Regions from separate parts of the Homo sapiens genome. Here regions 2 and 3 are each linked to region 1. The links are contacts of gene promoters, found by promoter capture Hi-C in human tissues and cell types (Jung and others, 2019). All regions are on one chromosome and are shown on one strand. The core of a region is centred on a gene start or on the middle of the fragment in contact, and the rest is flanking DNA. Distances in the headings are between cores, read along the strand shown. Region 1 holds the start of ERMN (ermin). Region 2 overlaps LOC105373712 (a long non-coding RNA gene). Region 3 has its middle 79 kb from the start of CYTIP.

Evidence for each region. Contacts are between HindIII fragments. The study calls those that stand out against the background at their distance.
Region 2: a fragment that was not itself captured here is called in contact with the fragment with the promoter of ERMN in region 1 in 1 of the 25 tissues and cell types used here (spleen).
Region 3: a contact is called between a fragment that was not itself captured here and the fragment with the promoter of ERMN in region 1, in 2 of the 25 tissues and cell types used here (lymphoblastoid cells and spleen).

What each region holds. Positions count from the first base shown.
Region 1 is chr2:157,323,321-157,327,506 of GRCh38, reverse strand. ERMN (ermin) reads left to right here and starts at 1,683. Exons shown (of 3, transcript NM_020711.3): 1 at 1,683-2,105; 2 at 2,745-2,837. The coding sequence starts at 1,865. RefSeq lists an enhancer at 1,250-1,799. The HindIII fragment of the contact is 5,881 bases long and covers 1-3,574 here.
Region 2 is chr2:157,478,170-157,482,557 of GRCh38, reverse strand. The region is part of intron 3 of LOC105373712 (a long non-coding RNA gene); the gene reads left to right. Among named protein-coding and RNA genes, the nearest start is that of CYTIP, 36 kb to the right of the region's middle. RefSeq lists a silencer at 1,574-1,633 and enhancers at 1,794-1,843, 1,984-2,113. The HindIII fragment of the contact is 3,799 bases long and covers 1,214-4,388 here.
Region 3 is chr2:157,520,890-157,525,427 of GRCh38, reverse strand. No RefSeq gene overlaps it. Among named protein-coding and RNA genes, the nearest start is that of CYTIP, 79 kb to the right of the region's middle. The HindIII fragment of the contact is 3,076 bases long and covers 975-4,050 here.

The DNA.
Region 1 (4,186 bases), core at 434-2,933:
CAACAGCACCTACCTCAGAAGACTGTTATGAAGAGTAAGTGTATTACTATTTATGAGTCAATTAGGACAGTAGCTTGCACATAATAAGTGTGATATGAGCGTTTGTTAAAACAGTTAAACAATCAAACAAACATAGAATTAGAGTGCTGACTAGAGAACAGCTGGTGATGACGCGGGAGGGAGATCTAGGATCTATTAGAGATGTCTTCCAAGGACAAGGGAGAGGGGATTATACAAGAGTGAGGTGTTGTCCCTGATATAGACCTGAATGGGCTCAGCCCTAGACACACTTTTAAAGGTGATATGCTTACTACAACTCTTCAACACCTATTCTTCTTCTCTTTAAAAATGATCTGAAATTTATTCTCTTGGGGATAAAATTTATTGTATATATTATATATATAATATAATTCTTGTTATGTATGTGTATATATATAATTATTTGTGTATATATGTGTATATATATAATTATTTTTATTGCGTGCTACTATTCCAAGCCAGATGCTAAGTGCTGGGGACACATGTAAGCAAGTTAAACTGGCCCCTCGCCAGATGAAACTTAGTTTGCAGTTGGTGAAACAGACATTACAGAGATAATTGTGCAGTTGCTTATTTAGTTACAACCATGAAGAATACTCTGAAGGGCAAAGACAATGTGTAACAGAGTCCTGTCCTAATCCTGGCGGTTAGAGATAGTGTAGTTAAGGAGATGATATTTAAGCTTAAAAACAGAACTTAGGGAAGCTGGTCAGCCCAGGGCTTGGGCTTGAGGAAGAGAAGGGCATTTCACATAGAAGGAGCTGTGTGGGCAAAGGCTCTGGAACCATTTTGTACTATGAGAAATCCAAAAAAGAAAAAGATTTAAAAAGGAAGGGGTGGTCAGTAGCAGTCATTTAACATAATCACCTGTTTCTCCCAAGGGCAGATTGCATTGGTCCTCTACATTTTACCAGCATTGTGTAATATCAGTATGGAATAGAAAGGATTGTAATTCTGATTGGGGGAGGAGAAACCTTCATGGCGATAATTTTATTAGGGTTTTAAAGGATCGGCTGGGCTTCAGCAGACATAAACTAGAGGATAAGAAGCTATAGACTAAGTAAATTACTCTGAAATTATAAAACTTTTGGTATTAGCAAGTTGGTAGAATTTGTTTATTTCATAGGTCCCTTCTCCAGCCTGCTGGAAGCACACCATCAAATCTGCAGCCAGAACCATTTACAGTAAAGTTGTCCTGTTTATAGGTTTTTTCCATAAGCTGTTTTATTTTTTAATAAATAAGAAACAATGCCATTGTCCTTTACAAAATAGCTGAGGTTTTACTTGAACAAAATCTGTTTGGAAATGTTAAGCTGGTTACACAGAACTAATATGCCTCAAGGTGGTCATTCTCTCTGGATTAAAGCTGTGGGACAATTGTGGCTCCTGTTACAGGGAAAATTACAATGGGCCATTATGAAAAGGGACAAAAATCTCTGTTCCCAGAGGGGGACTGACAAGCTGAAAGTCCCTCTCTACATGCCAACACAAAAGCCTGATTGCTTCAGATTGTTTGTTTATGTAAATCAAAAGGATGCCTTTAACTCTGCCAGGGAACTGGCAAGCAACAAAGAAGGTGGTGATTGGCTGGATTCTTGCTCATGGCTCCTGGCAGATCTGACAAATCCTCTTGCTTTTGCTCTAATCTCTGTCTGGATACTTTTAGGAAAAGAACCTTGTTATTATGTACTAAAGTGAATAATTTGTGCTCTTAGAGTAGGAGTTGGAACTATAGGACTTGAAGGCAAGAGCAGGTATCTTATCAAGGATCTACTCACTCAGTTTCCCTAAAGCTCTCTCTCCAGATCGGATTCAACCGCACATCATGACAGATGTTCCGGCTACATTTACCCAGGCTGAGTGTAATGGGGATAAACCACCTGAAAACGGTCAACAAACAATCACTAAAATCAGTGAGGAATTGACTGATGTGGACAGCCCCCTGCCACACTACAGGGTAGAACCCAGTCTGGAAGGTGCACTCACCAAAGGAAGTCAGGAGGAAAGAAGAAAATTACAAGGGAACATGCTGCTCAACTCATCCATGGAGGACAAAATGCTAAAAGGTAAAGTGTTTCCCTTCTCCTTAATTTTCTTGTTTTGACTTATAAATTTACCCTGGATTTTTTTGATAAACTATTATCGAAATGAGCTGGACACCCCAAAAATGTAGCCCTTTATTCTACTACGCATAGTATAAGGACTAAACCTCTGCCTCTGGTGAAATCCAGGCTGGTCTATTTGACAGCTGTGACCCCAGACAACTTTCTGTCTCCCGAAGCCTGAGTTTTTTTCACTAGAAGAAGGCGGAATAATAATAATAACTACAAGTCTAGGGTAAGTATTGGCTAAATGTTAACTACTGTATTTATTATGATTATGGACAGCCCCATATTATTTGAACAAAGAGAATTCAAAATGTTAAAATTTCCTTCTAAATATAACTGAAGTTCTCTGAATTTATGGTTCTATATCTTATATATATATCTTATATAAATATTAAAGGAGAGATTACAATCAATAAAGTGATCATTAAGTAAATAAATTGAATTGATAAAGAATGAATCCAAAGAGTGAAATAGTAAATTTTAATGATCAGATTTAAAATTAAAGACTTCTACCTAGAGTTTAAATTGATAACTTATTAACTGTTGAACAATAAATATTTTAAATGTTAAAATACTGATTTTATATTTTTTTCCTAGAAAACCCAGAAGAGAAACTCTTTATTGTTCATAAGGCTATCACAGATCTTTCTCTCCAAGAAACTAGTGCTGATGAAATGACATTCAGAGAAGGTAACAAGAACTACAGTTTTGTACACAGAAATTGTTTGACTGAGTATGGATGACAGTCTTTCCATGAAATGTTGCATGAGCGTGGGGTTGACAAAGCAATCCAGGCAATGACTTCAAATTTTCAAAGCTGCTGTAGGCAGATAAGAGAGTCTTAACTTATCTGTGGGTTCCACCTTATAAAGCATTCCAGACTGTTCAAGGCTGAGGCTGCATGGAATGGCATAGCTGATTGGCATACCAACGTGATGTCTATCTCTTAAGTTAGTCCACTGAGTCAACCCTACTTTTTGATTTGGTGTGTCCAAATCTGTGTGTGCACCTTGTGAAAGGTAAATGTTTCAAAAACGGGTCTTTCCTAAAAGTCTACAATTAACATACAGCTTTTTTTTTTTTTTTTGAGACGGAGTGTCACTCTTGTTGCCCAGGCTGGAGTGCAATGGTGCAATCTCGGCAGACTGCAACCTCTGTCTCCAGGGTTCAAGCGATTCTCCTGCCTCAGCTTCCTGAGTAACTGGGATTACAGGCACCTGACACCACGCCCAGCTATTTTGTGTGTGTGTGTGTGTGTGTGTGTGTATTTTTAGTAGAGACGGAGTTTCACCATGTTGGCCAGGCTGGTCTTGAACTCCTGACCTCAGTTGATCCACCTGCCTTGGCCTCCCAAAGTGCTGGGGTTACAGGCGTGAGCCACTGTGCCCGGCCAACATACAGTTTAAAGTAATCTCACGAAATGATTTACTTTATAGGCCTCTAATGTAAATACAAAATTGTTAACTATTTCATGTCAAAGAAAGACAGGGTGATAAAGTTAATTTTAATTGTGTTCTTTAAGAAAATGGAAGAATAAAAAGAACATTGAAGTGATTATGTTAAATTTTAAATAAACTTAATAGACTAAGAGACACAAAATCCTTTAGATTTTTCTAAGACACCTACATTTAAACAGTTCCCAAATAAAGTGTAGGATAAAATCTATTAATTAATCATTTCTTTCCTCTCTTGCAGCCATACACATCTTATGTCAAATTGAAGTCAGCTTGCTAAACCTAACCAATTTAGCTTTGTTAGGACTTTAACAGGCAAAATATTGAAGAGACTATTGGTTGAAATATTAGAACATCACATAAAATAGTAGATGTCAAGGAGGACAGGAATGTGATTGGCTATTTCCTACATCTGCTCCCTTTGCCTGAACACCTCTCATACTATGTCTGCTTAGCAGTGTAGCAACACTTAAGGAAATATGTAGCAAGCAATAGACAGTGTCAAGCTGTCACATTACCAGAGATAATTTTTAAGACTTAAGACTTCACAATATGAACTTAATAACCTCTTTGCCCTAATTATTC
Region 2 (4,388 bases), core at 1,864-4,363, 150 kb before region 1:
TCTTCCTATAGGCACTCCTTCCAGGCTTTAAGAGTGGTTCTCATGGCAGCCCCGAAGTTGGTTCAGTGGTGAGAGGCATGTCTTGGTGGAATAGATAGAAAACTGAAGTATTACTCCCTTCCCACCCCTACCAAGGCCACCTTACACCTCTAATCATTTCCTTCTTCTCTGTTCCCACCTCAGTCTTCCTTTCAGACTTGACTGGAGAGGGAGAAGGTCCAGTTTGGGGTGATGATTTAGAGCAGCAGAGCCTTTACCTGGTTGTGTCTTCGTAAGCCTTAAAGAAGGTGGTTAGCTCCAGTTGTTCTCAGTTCTCCAACTTCTCTATTTTAATATTGTGGCCTTAACTGCCAATTTTGGGATAACAGAAAAACTTGTACTCAGTAGCCTGTTACATTTGTGCACTTTGGGGAACAAAAATTGATATAAAATTGAAAACTTCTCATCTGCAACAGAAGCTGTCAAGAGAATGAAAAGGCAAGTCACAGACAGGGATACAATAATTACAAAAGATGCATCTGATAAAGGACTGTTATCCACAATATGCACAGAAATTGTAAAACTCAACAATAAGAACACAAACAACCTGATTAATAAGCGCGCAAAAGATTTGAACACACTTCACCAAAGAAGAACGAAAGATGGCAAATAAGCATATGAAAAGATACACAACATCATATCTCATTAGGAAATGCAAATTATTAAATGCCTAAGGTAGTCTTCTTTGGGTTAAATCTGCTTGGTGTTCTATAATCTTTTTTGGATTTGGATATTCATATCTTCCTCTAGGTTTGGGAAATTCTCTGTTATCCCTTTGAATGAATTTTCTACCTCTGTCTTTCTCTACCTCCTCTTTAAGGCCAGTAACTCTTAGATTTGCCCTTTTAAGGCTATTTTCTAGATCTTGTAGGCATGCTTCATTGTTTTTCATTCTTTTTTCTTTTGTCTCCTTTCACTGTGTATTTACAAACAGCATGTCTTCAAGTTCACTAATTCTTTCTTCTGCTTGGCCAATTCTGTTATTAAAAGACTGATGCATTTTTTGTATGCCAATTGCATTTTTCAGTTCCGGATTTTCTGTTTGATTCTTTTAAATTATTTCAACCTCTTTGTTAAATTTATCTGATAGAATTCTGAATTCCTTTTCTGTGTTCTCTTGAATTTCTTTGAGTTTCCTCAAAATAGCTATTTTAAATTTTCTGTCTGAAAGGTCACATATCTCTGTTTCTCCAAGACTGGTCCCTGGTGCCTTATTAGGTTCATTTAATGAGGTCATGTTTTCCTGGGTCGTCTCAATATTTGTAGATATTCATCTGTGTCTGGGTATTTATCGTAGTCTTTGCAGTCTGGTGTTTGTACTGGTCCTTCTTGGGAAGGCTTTCCAGATATTTGATAGGACTTGGATGTTGTGATCTAAGCTGTATCTGCTTCAAGAGGTACCTCAAGCTCAGTAACACTGTGGTTATTGCATACTTGTAGAGGTACTGCCTTGATGGTCTTAGACAAGATCTGGGAAAATTTTTTGTATTATCAGACAGGGACTCTTTTTCTCTTCCCTTAGTTTCTCTTAAACAAATGGAGCCTCTCTTTCTATTCTGAGCCACCCAAAGCTGGGGGTGGAGTGATACAAGCTCCCTTGTGGCAATCACCACTATGACTGTTCTCAGTCAGACCTGAAGCCAGCACAGTACTGGATTTCACCCAAGGCCTGTTGCAACCACTCCCTGGCTACTGCCTATGTTCTCTGCAATCAGCAAGTGGCAAAGACAGCCAGGCCCGTGTCCTTTCCTTCAGGGCAGCAAGTTCCCCCAGGCTCCAGGAAGGCCCAGAGGTGCCACCCAGCAGCCAGGGATTAGAGTCAAAACCCTTAGAAGTCTATTATACTGCAGCTGAGCTGGCATTCAAACTACAAGATACAGTCCATCTCACTCTTCTCTCACCTTTTCAAAGGCAGAGGAGCCTCACCTCTTGGCCACCGTCACCACAGGCCTACAGGGAGTACTACCAGACTACCACCAATGTTCCCTTAAGGTACAAAGTCTCTTCAGTCAGCTTGTGGTGAATGCTGCCTGGGTTGGGACTCACCCTTTAGGGCAGCGTGCTCCCTTCAGGCCCAGGGCAGGTCCAGAAATGCCATCCAAGAGCCAAGTCCTGGAATTGAGGACCCCAAGAGGCCTGCTTTGTGCTTTACAACCCTGTGGCCAAGGTGCATGACAAAGTCCCCTTTGCTTTTCCTTTCACTTTTTTCAAGCAGAAGAAGTCTCACCCATAGCCATCATGGCTGGGAATGTGCTGAGTCACCCAAAGCCAGCAAGTTTCAGAGTCTCCCCCAAGACCCTCAATGTAGTACCTGCATATTGCTGCTGGTTATTCAGGACCTAAGGGCTCTTCACTTAGCAGGTGATGAATGCTGCCAGGAAAGCGTCCTTTCTTTCAAAGCAATGGGTTCCCTTCTGGCCCAGGGTATGTCTGGAAATGTCATCTAGGATCTAGGGCCTGCGAAGGGGGCCTCATGACTCCAATTGGTGTCCTATCCCGCTGTGGCTGAGCTGGTATCTAAGATGCAAGACAAATTCATCCTCACTCTTTCCTCTCCTCTCCTCAAGTGGAAGGAAAAGGTCTCTTGTGGAGCTGTGAGCTATGCAGCCTGGCGTTAGGGAAGTGTTAATAGCAGCCCTGCCTTAGGTGCTGCAGTGTCTCAGTAGGTCACATGTCCCTCCAGTCAACTGTCTCTGAGCCCAGTTTAGCCCTAGGACTCACCGAGGAATTGTAGTCCTTGTGACCTAGAATGCCTTTCGAGTTTATTTAGAGCCCCAGAGCACTTTAGACCATGGTGGTGAGGCTTGTGGGAACTCAAGTTCTTACCACTGGGATTGATGAGAACTTAGCTGATGCTCCTTCCTTGGGTGGGTGATCAGCTAAGTTTGGACTGGTTTTCCTTTCTGTTATAACAACAGCACTGAGTTTAATGCCTCACAATTGCTGCACTCTCCCTCCCCCAGTTCATGGAGAAGCTTTCTGTACCATACCACTGCTGCTGGGGTGGGGAGGTGGAGGGGAAGGGTTATGTCTTTTTTTCTACTTTTTCAGTGCCCCTTTCAGCAATACAAAGTTAAAACCAAGTACTACGAGTGCTCACCTGATTATGGGTTCTTATGAAGATGGTTTTTTTGTGGGTAGATAGTTGTTAAATTGGAGTCCTTGGGGTTTGGGAGGGGAGCGATTGGTAGAGTCTTCTATTCTTGATCTACCTACCAGGAAATGTAAATTAAAGTGACAGGATACTACTATAGGCCTATGGGAGTGGCAAAAATCCAAAACACTGACAACACCAAATGCTGATGAGAATGTAGAGCAACAGGAACCCTCATTCATTGTTGGTGGAAATGCAAAATGGTACAGCCGCTTTGGAAGACAGCTTTGCAGTTTAATGTAAAACTAAACATACTCATACCATAGAATCCAGGAATTGGTCTGCTTGGTATTCTCCCGAATAAGTTGAAAATTTAAGCCCACACAAAAACCTATACATGGATGTTTATAGCAGCTTTTTTCATAATTGCCAAAACTTAGAAGCAACTAAGACGTCCTTCAATAGGTAAACAGATAAAGAGACTGTGGTACATTTATATGATGGAATATTATTCAATATTAAAAAGAAATGAGCTATCAAGTCACGAAAAGACATGGAAGAACTTTAAATGTATATTAGTAAGTGAGAAAAGCCAACGTGGAAATGTTACATACTGTTTGATTCCCATTATACGACATTCTGGTGAAAACAAACTGTAGAGACAGTAAAAAGATCAGGGATTAGGTGGGAGGAAGCAATAAATAAGTGGAGCACAAGGCCGGGCGTGGTGGCTCACTCCTGTAGTCCCAGCACTTTGGGAGGCCGACGCGGGCAGATCACGAGGTCAGGAGATCGAGACCATTCTGGCTAACATGGTGAAACCACATCTCTACTAAAAATACAAAAAATTAGCCAGGCGTGGTGGTGGGCTCCTGTAGTCTGGGAGGCTGAGGCAGAAGAATGGCGTGAACCCAGGAGGTGGAGCTTGCAGTGAGCCCAGATCGTGCCACTGCACTCCAGTTCGGGCGACAGAGCAAGACTCCATCTCAAAAAAAAAAAAAAAAAAAAAAAAAAGGGGGGAGCACACAGGATACTTAGGGCAATGAAACTATTCTGTATGATATCACAATGCTGGATGTATCATTATACATTTGTCAAAACCCATAGAATATACAACACCATGAGTGAACCTAATGTAAACATGGGTTACATTTGGGTAAAAGTGATTGCTTGTATTTGGGTAAAAATGATTGGCTATATAGGTTCATTAAATATCTTCATATCAGTATCATGAAGGAAGTAATATTGGTATGCC
Region 3 (4,538 bases), core at 1,263-3,762, 200 kb before region 1:
TTGTAATTCTGCAATTTCAGCATCTTAATTTTAAAACACTAATATGTGCAAACTTTGGCAAATGTTCACATTGATGCAATAGTTTACCTACAGTGTGAACATAAAATTGGATAGGTACTTTTTTGCATCAGGATAAATTCCTGGAGATTAGGGGATTACTGAATCCAGGCTGTTTTATGGAGTGTTCTGGAAGTGATTTTCAAGAAATGCTCTGTGACTTTTAGAAGAAATATACATATTTTGGCAGAGAGTTATTAAAACATTGATTTGAATAGTTTCTTTAAAATCTATTTATTAGAAACATTTTCCCACAGAGTGCTTTAAGTTTTTTTTTGTTTGTGTCTTGTTAATGATGTATGTAACAAACTTGTAATTACAATCACTTTTATATTTAAAAGAGGTTAATATTCTTTTTCCTTCAAATATTAGTTAAGAAATCTTTATCAAACATTGCTGCAAGAAAATTGACGTGTTGAAGCTTGTGGGATGGGAGAGATTTGTTTAAGTAGAATACAAGGAAGAGGTTGTCCCTGGTTGGAATCGTGTCTAAAACAGGGGCTGATGCTCATGGCAGTGAGTAACCTACAGAACTGGGATTGAGGGATTCTGTAAGGATTAGATTACAGCATTTAAACTTGATCCTGTCATTGAGGGAAACGCTGAAGGTTTTAAAGCATCAGCGATCATGTGAAGTTGGCATTTAATAAAGGCAGTAAAAGAATTACCCTCTTAAGAGATTTATCAAAGTAACCTGAAGATTACAACATACCCTTTCTTTCCTAACTGATAAATATTTAGAGATAGTACACAGGTGAAGAATTTCAAGATGAGCTATACAAGCAGTGTGATGTGAGTGATTTTATGTGGTGTATTTTCCCTACTTTTTAATATATCTTAAATGCAAAGCAAAATATTGTCATAAGGAAGCCAAAAAATAAATGACATTTAATCTTTAATCATTTAGTTTTATTACAATTATGACATGAAGAATTTTAAAAATACATACACAGAAAGAAACAATCATTTATAAAGGTCTACCTTGTAATTCCATCTTTGCACAAATAAATCTCGAGGTGCCACTGAACTGTATGCATTAAATTTCAAATATAATCAAATCAGGTTTAGAAATACTAATGGTGTTTCATAGAAGAATCCTTGCTTCAGCAACTTAGGAAATTACACTTGATTTTCTTTTGAGTGTTATTCAATTGTGCTTGAAATTGTTCATTTGAACCCTTCTAAACAACAAGCAGGTGGTTAAATGTGGGCACTGTTTAACATTTACACAAAAAATTCCAAGCACAATGCACTTTTGCTCTGTGAATGTCAACTGGCTTTCCCTTCTCTCTCATAGCCTGTCCTTCCCTGGCCATTAGATTTGACCTTGCTACATCCCTGAAAAGAGAACTGGCTGAAATGTAGCTACTTGCTAGGGAGCATTAGACTATTTTTATAGTCCTGCAGCTAAAGCTTTTAATGTGGCAACTGCTGGTTACTGAAGCAGTTTAAGAAAAAGGAACTGCTGAGTTTGCCTTTTATTTTTAAATGGAGAAACACAAGGTGACAATCATATAAGATATAAGTGAAGCGGAACAGGGGAAATACAGCCTAGGATTTCTGTATAGAGCAAAAGCAAGAATTTGCAAACCACATTTCAATTCTATACTGCAATCTGGATCTTTACTTTTATATAATACGTGAACTAGTTCATAAAATGCACTTTTCTCTATGTCAGCTTTTCCTTTATCAGAAATACATGGGTGATACCATAAACATCTTACTGAGAATTTAGTCACTGTGAGGTATTTGTGAAATAACCAAAAATTTACATTTGGGTGGAAATATGACATTCGCAAAGACATAGACTTTGTAGTTCTTTCCTTTCCAAAGCAAACTTTTGTTAAGTGTAGGGTACATTCTCTGTCCCCATTTTCTCTCTGCCCATTCACTCCTCGACCCACTACAATGGAACTTTTGAGTCTTCCTGTAAAATGGCCTCCTCTGTGCTAAGTATTTTGTAGTAGTCTAGTGCAAAGATATTTACCCTTTTCTTCCTTTGTCCCTCTCTGGCCTTTGCAACAGACTGTCCTCTCCCATAATTATTTTCCTTTGCTTGATTGTCCTCCCCCTACCTCTTCTTTTTCTCTGCATTCTGCACTTCATCTTCTTCTTCTTCTTCTTTTTTTTTTTTTTTTCTGTTCTTTTGAGACAGAGTCTCACTCTGTTACCCAAACTGGCGTGCAGTGGCATGATCACAGCCCATTGCAGCATCGACCTTTCCAGGCTCAAGTGATCCTCCTACCTCAGCCTTCCCAGTAGCTGGGACCAGGCCTGTGCCAGTAAACCTGGCTAATTTTTCTATTACTTGCAGAGACAAGGTTTCACCATGTTGCCCATGCTGGTCTCAAACTCCTGGGCTCAAACGATCCGCCCGCCCGCCTTGGCCTCCCAAAGTGCTGGGATCACAGGTGTGAGCCACTGTGCCTGGACAGTATTTTCCTTTCTTTGTGTCCCTACAATGCTAATATTTACCTGTATCTAGCTTTGGCTGTCCTAAACACTCCTCCTTGGTGATCTCATCTACTCTTTTGTCTTTAATAAGGCTGGTGATGTTCAAATCTGCATATTTGTCCCAGACTTATCTTCTAAGATCCAGGCCCTAATGTCCAGCCTCTTCTTTATGTATCCACCTGGTTATAACATAGTCACTTCTGATTCCAATGTCAAAATGTAATTTTTTGTGTCTCACTTCTTTTGCTTAGCATACTGTTTTTGACATTCAGTCATGTTGTTAGATGTATCAGCAGCTTGTTCTTTTACATTGCTGGGTACAGTTGTATTCTATTAACATACCACAATTTGTTTATGCATTCACCTGTTGAACATTTGGGTTGTTTCCGGTTTGGGGCTATTATGAATAAATCTGCTGTGAACATTGATGTTTAAGTGTTTTTGTGGATATGTGTTTTCAATTCTCTTGAGTAAATACCTAACACTATAATTGCTGGAGTGTAAATACTTTCAAGTAGAATTAGGTAAATACTTAGGGGTGTAAAGTGTATGTACCATTTTATACTCGCTATCAGTATATGAGAGTAATAGTTGCTCCAGAGTTTTTCACTGTAGCTTTTCTGGTGAAGTGCAGTAGTATCTCATTGTTATTTTAAATTGAACTTCTGTGATCACTAATAATATTTAGCTTCTTTTCCTACAAATACTGACTTTGTGCATTTGGAGTACATCAAAATATTTTGCCCACTTTTTTACTGGTCGTTTGTTTTCTTATTATTGAGTTGTAAGTATACTTTACGGATTCTGGATACAAATATTTGACAGATATCAAGTCATTTTTTTCGTGACAAACCTGTTTCCCTGCCTGTGATCCCTCTTGTTCAACCCAACAACCCAGTCCTATTGTCCCTTCTTCCTAAATATATCTATCCTTCCTCTTCATCTGTATGCCACCATACCACTGTCTCACTTCAGGCCCCTACCAGTTGTTACTTTGGTGTCTGCCATGGTCTTTTCTCATATTGTGTCTCCATTTCCACTCCTATTAATTTACTCTCTTTCAGATAACTACTAGTGATTGTTCTAAATTATAAGTATAATCACCTTATTTTCCTCTTTAAAATATTTTTAAATCTTAATTTGAAACTGTCTGTTTATTTCCGAACAAAAATAGAATTTCATAGCAACTCAATTTCCTTCCTTTTCTCCTCCCTCAGCTAATCCCTCACCTCTTTCTCTAATATACCTGTCAACTAGAACTACTGGCAATGCTATAAACACTGCATGTGTATCTACAATTCTAGGATTTCATGTAACTATTTTTTCATCTTTCTGGAATTTCCCTGTCTCTGTCTAACTCACATGATTCACTTTTATTTCTCATCAGGCTCAGTTTAAACATGATCTTCTTTTGAATATTATTTCACTAATTCATTCTTGATGTAGGTACCTGTCTTAATCGGAGTTTTCTAGAAAGAGAGTCTGAGGAAGGGTCTAGGTGTTGATGGTTTACTTGGGAGGTGCAAAGCTAGTGCAACCAAAATGAGGACCTTCACTTTGATTATTTCCCTCAAACTCAGATGAATAATTGGGATAAATAAATAAGCATGTGTATATTTGAATCTTACATTGTTTTCTGTAAATCACAGCAAATCTATGAAAAACCTACAGTTATACCTAATGGTTAAAGACTATACTTTCCCCTAAGTCCAGAAATAAATTAATATTAATTTTCACAACTTCTTTTTTTTTATTATTATACTTTAAGTTTTAGGGTACATGTGCACATTGTGCAGGTTAGTTACATATGTAGACATGTGCCATGCTGGTGCGCTGCACCCACTAACTCATCATCTAGCATTAGGTATATCTCCCGATGCTATCCCTCCCCCCTCCCCCCACCCCACCACAGTCCCCAGAGTGTGATATTCCCCTTCCTGTGTCCATGTGATCTCATTGTTCAATTCCCACCTATGAGTGAGAATATGCGGTGTTTGGTTTTTTGTTCTTGCGATAGTTTACTGAGA